Regions from separate parts of the Homo sapiens genome. Here region 1 is linked to region 2. The links are contacts of gene promoters, found by promoter capture Hi-C in blood cells and fetal thymus (Javierre and others, 2016). All regions are on one chromosome and are shown on one strand. Each heading gives the region's core, a stretch centred on a gene start or on the middle of the fragment in contact. The rest is flanking DNA. Distances are from core to core; before and after follow the strand shown.

Region 1 (2,700 bases), core at 141-2,640, 260 kb before region 2:
TTCATTTTCATTTAATTCAAATATTTTAAAATTTCTCTTGAGACTTTTTTGGCCCTTGTGTTCTTTAAATGTATGTTGTTAAATCTCTAAATATTTTTGGATTTTCCAGCCACCTTTCTGTTACTGATTTTTAGTTTAATTCCATTGTGGTCTGAGAACATACGTTGTATGATTTCTATTCTCTTAAGTGTGTTAAGGTGTGTTTTATGGCTCAGAATGTGGTCTGTCTTGGTGAATGTTCCATGTGAGTTTGGGAAGAATGTATACTCTGCTCTTGCTGCTTTGAATATTCTATAAATGTCAATGAAATCAAGTTGATTGGTAATTCTGATCAGGTCAACTATATCCTTACTGATTTTCTCCCTGCTTGATTTATCAATGACTGAAAGAGAGGTGTTGAAGTCTCCAATTATAGTAGTGCACTTGCCTAACTCTCCCATCAGCTCTGTCAATTTTTTTTTTTAAGATGGAGTTTTATTTGTTGCCCAGGCTGGAGTGCAGTGGCATGCTCTCAGTTCACTTCCACCTCCACCACCTGGGTTCAAGCGATTCTCCTGCCTCAGCCTCCTGAGTAGCTGGGATTACAGGCACCCACCACAACCCCCGCTAATTTGTGTATTTTTAGTAGAGATGGGGTTTCACCATGTTGGCCAGGCTAGTCTCCAACTCCTGACCTCAGGTGATCCATCCCTGTCAGCCTCCCAAAGTGCTGGGATTACAAGCGTGAACCATTGCGCCCATCCAGTTCTGTAAATTTTTGCATCACACATTTTGATGCTCTGTTGTTAGGTGCATACACATTATGGATTGTTATGTCCTTTTGGACAATTGGCCCGTTTATCAATGTGTGATTCCTCTGTTTAGTCCTGAGAATTTTCATTTTCCAAAGTCAGCTTTGTCTGAAGTTAATGGAACTACTCCAGCTTTGTTTTCTTAGTGTTACCATGGTGTGTCTTTCTCCACTCATTTACTTTTAACTTATCTGAATCATGATATTTAAGATGGGTTTCTTATAAGCAAAATATAGCTGTGTCTTGTTGTGTTATTTAGCCACTCTGATAATCTCTGTCTTTTAATTTGTATACTTAGACCAGTCACATTTAAAGTGATTATTGATATAGTTGGGTTAAATCTATCATGTTTGTAACTGTTTTCTATTCATTGTACTTATTCTTTGCTTCTTTTTCTTCTTCCCTGTTTTTCTTGCCTTCTCTGAGCATTATTTAATTGAGCATTTTATATGATTTCATTTTATCTGTTAGCATATCAATTATATTTCCTTTAAAATTTCTTTTAGTAGTTAGCCTAGAATTTGCAATATACAATTACAACTAATTTAAGTCACTTCAAATAAAACTATACTAATTCACATGTATTGTAGGTACCTTATAACAGAATTTCCAATTCCTCCTCTTCTCCCTTATAACATTGCTGTCATTCATTTCACTTATTCATATTCTATAATTTACCCAATAACTTATTATTTTGCTTTAAACAGTTATCTTTTAGATCAATTAAGAATAAAAATAATTTTTTTTTTGAGATGGAATCTCACTCTGTCGCCCAGGCTGGAGTACAGTGGCACAATCTCAGCTCACTGCAACCTCTGCCTCCTGGGTTCAAGCGATTCTCCTGCCTCAGCCTCCTGAGTAGCTGGGATTACAGGTGCATGCCACCACACCCGGCTAATTTTTGTATTTTTAGTAGAGATGGGGTTTCACCACGTTGGTCAGGCTGGTCTCGAACTCCTGACCTTGTGATCCACCCACCTCAGCCTCCCAAAGTGCTGGGATTACAGGCGTGAGCTACCACACCCGGCAAAAAAATAAACTTTTGTTTTACCTCCATTAATTTCTTCTCCAGTGCTCTTTCCTTCTTTATGTGGATCTGATCTTATATCACTAACCTTCTCCCTGGATTATTTTTTTAAAATTTCTTTCAGGGCAAATCTGCTGGCAATGATATCTTGTTTTTGTTTGAAAAGTCTTTATTTCTTCTTTATTTTTGAAGGATAATTTCACTGGATATAGAATTCTAGGTTGGTAGGGGTTCTTTCTCCAACATTTTAATATTTTACTACACTCTCCTCTTGCTTGCATGGTTTTTGACAAAAGATTCTCTGTAGGTATTATCCTTGTTTGTCTATAGGTAAAGGGGCTTTCCCCTCCAGGTTCTTTTAGGATTTTTCTCTTTGTCTTTGGTTTTCTGAAATTTGAATACAATTTTCCTAAGTGTAGATATTTTTGATATTTATCCTGCTTGATGTTCTCTCAACTCCCTGGATCTGAGGTTTGGTGTCTGTCACTAATTTGGACAGTTCTTGACCATTATTATTTCAAATATTTCTTTTGCTGTGTAATCTCCTTTAATTTCTGGCATTCCAATTATGTGTATGTTATATCTCTTGAAGTTATCCCACAGTTCTGGGGTTTCTGTTTTGTTTTGTTTGTTTCTCTTTTTTTCCTCTTCACATTTCAGTTTGAGAAATTTCTATTGACATATCTTTAAGCTCACTGATTCTTCCCTTAGCCAATTCATTCTACTAATGAGCCCATCAAAGGCATTCTTCATTTCTGTTGCAGTGTTTCTGATTTCTAGCTTTTCCTTTTAATTCTTTCTTAGAGTTTTCAGCTCTCTGCTTACATTACCATCTGCTCTACCATGTCGTATGCTTTTTCCAGTAGAGTTCCTAACATATTA
Region 2 (2,700 bases), core at 130-2,629:
CTTTCTCTTAGCCCCATCACATCCTGCTTTTTCAGATTGCTGGGTTCAACTTCCCAGCTCCCTCTTACTAGGTCTGTCACATTAAGCAGGTTACTTAGGTACCTCTGTTTCTGTAAAATGGGAATGTTAGGATAATACATAATACATAATACATAGGATAATACATAATAATGTGAGATAATACGTAAAAAACCTTTAGCATAGTACCCAGAACATAACACTCAATAAATGTTAGCTGTTATGTCTGTGATGTAGACCACATTCTCACAACAAAACAAGCTTGGAGATGAGAAGTTGCCCAAGGTCACATAATTGCCCAAGGTCACATAACTGATGGAACACCTATTGTTCACCGTATTGCTGTTTTCCTACTTGACGGTAGGGAGAACATTATTGCAGATTTCCTGTTCCCAAACAGTGTGTGGCACCAAGTGCTCAAAGAATGTTTCATGATATCATATGGTCAAATATCTGGAAAAACACATAGAATAAATTGAATCTGGAAAAAGAGACGGGGGAGAAGGAAAGTGTCAGGAGAGTTGACTTAAAATATTTTTGGAGTTGTGTAGAAGAGGGAGGGACTTAGGATGGCCCTGGGAGAAAGAACTCGGCCCAGGGACCGAGATGACCGGAGGCAGACATTTAGGCTGTCTATATTATTATTATTTTTTTTTTTTTTGAGACAAAGTCTCGCTCTGTTATCCAGGCTGGAGTGTAGTGCGCGATCTCGGCTCGCTGCAACCTCCTCCTTCCGGGTTCAAGTGATTCACCTGCCTCAGCCTCTGGAGTAGCTGGGATTACAGGTGCCTGCCACCACGCCTGGCTAATTTTTGTATTTTATAGAGACGGGGTTTCACCAGTTGGTCAGGCTGGTCTCAAACGCCTGACCTCAGGTGATCCGCCCGCCTCGGCTTCCTAACATGCTGAGATTACAGGCGTGAGCCACCTTGCCCGGCCATATTATCTTTACTATACTATCTCTCTAAAAAAGAATGCTGTCCAACGTTGGAATGGGGAAGAAGGTGTACACTGGGAATGCTTCCCCAATCACCCTCTTGTCACAGACCTGACGTCAAGATGAGACTGGACGACCTCTGGGCCTCCAAGTTGTATGAGTCCGGACCGGGGAGGCAGAGAAGGGTCAATAGACCCGAGAGGCCGTACCGTCAGTGATGCCCTTGTTCCCGTGGGAGCCCTTCGGTTCCACGCGGTTCCCACCACGCGCCCGCCAACCCTAGCCCGAGGCCTCACTTTGCAGGCCTTCCCCGAAAGCGGGAAGCCTTGGCCGCTAGACTAGCCAAGAGGGTAAGCAAAGGCGGAGGAAACTCAGCCAGGCCGGAAACACAGAGAACTGTTTCCGGGTCGGGGGGCAGGAGCCACCATCGAGCTTCGCGGGGTTGCTGGGCTGACGGATCCGCGGGCCGGCATCTGAAGCGAGCGGGACGCAGCGCGGCCAGGGCCTCCGGGCATACGCAGGCTGGTCCCCAAGGCCCGCGGCCGCCGCCATGTCGGTGCTGGGCGAGTACGAGCGACACTGCGATTCCATCAACTCGGACTTTGGGAGCGAGTCCGGGGGTTGCGGGGACTCGAGTCCGGGGCCTAGCGCCAGTCAGGGGCCGCGAGCCGGCGGCGGCGCGGCGGAGCAGGAGGAACTGCACTACATCCCCATCCGCGTCCTGGGCCGCGGCGCCTTCGGGGAAGCCACGCTGTACCGCCGCACCGAGGTAGCGGCCCTCGGCGCCGGCCGCCCTGTCTGGCGCTGTCGGGTCGCCCCGAGTCCCTCCTTCTCGGCCCCGCTTTCCCAGCGTCGTGAGCTTAGTGCTTTAGGCGCCCACGGGGTATATGTCTTAGGGTCTTCACCACTCTTCCCACTCACCGGCACTAGAAATTGGCTAGATCATTGGTTTGACTAGTCATTTTTGATTGTCCTAAGTCACCTAACCGTCTCTTGAGCTTTAGTTTCCCCATCTGTAAAATGGGCTTACTGATAATACCTTGAAATCATCTTTTTCTTTTTTTTTTAAGATTATCTTGAGAATCAAACGAAGGCTCTGTTCTGTAAATTAAAGTGGTATACGAATGTGAGGTATTGCCAAAACTTCCTTCCTCTCATGCTGTATATATAGTTCTCCAAGGTCGGGGTGAGGAGGAGGGGCATAGCTTCAAAATCCCCACACCCGTGGCAACTCCGTTATTTTTGTCATTATCTTTAAGTTCAGCAGTGATCACTCAGTTGGAAGCTTTTCTTGAAGCTCATTGGGAAGATCTTTGTGTGTTGGTTCTTTATCAGTGTTTATCTTGCAGGGTTTATGCATGGGAAATACTTTGTTGGTATATTCTAAGCCATTAGTTCTTAATTTGGGGGGCACAAGGACCCCTTTGATAACCTAAGCAAAGTAATCTTGCCCCCTCCATCAACACATTTGCACATATGCACATCCTTTGGAGAGATCCATGGATCACGGAATCCCAAGTTAATATATACTAGTGTAAAACCCTGCAGTGATTATTCTACTTCCAAAAACTAACGATACACTAGATTTGATCATAAAATCTTACTTTAGGGTAAACATTTAATGAGAACTTGCTGGGGTTGCTGAAGGTGATTCATCCGTCGGAAATCCATCTGCAGTTCTGGTGTGTGTTCCAAGCCAGCATACTTTTAAGGCTGAAAGATGGAGAAGGAGAGAAGTGGTTGCA

Evidence for each region. Contacts are between HindIII fragments. The CHiCAGO score rates a contact against its expected background, and 5 or more counts as called.
Region 1: a contact is called between a fragment that was not itself captured here and the fragment with the promoter of NEK9 in region 2, in 1 of 17 cell types (monocytes). The highest score is 12.3, in monocytes.

The regions. Positions count from the first base shown.
Region 1 is chr14:75,384,429-75,387,128 of GRCh38, reverse strand. No RefSeq gene overlaps it. Among named protein-coding and RNA genes, the nearest start is that of JDP2-AS1, 42 kb to the left of the region's middle. The HindIII fragment of the contact is 3,002 bases long and covers 1-2,700 here.
Region 2 is chr14:75,125,727-75,128,426 of GRCh38, reverse strand. NEK9 (NIMA related kinase 9) reads left to right here and starts at 1,379. Exons shown (of 22, transcript NM_033116.6): 1 at 1,379-1,724. The coding sequence starts at 1,506. RefSeq lists enhancers at 1,326-1,455, 1,466-1,515. The HindIII fragment of the contact is 1,961 bases long and covers 282-2,242 here.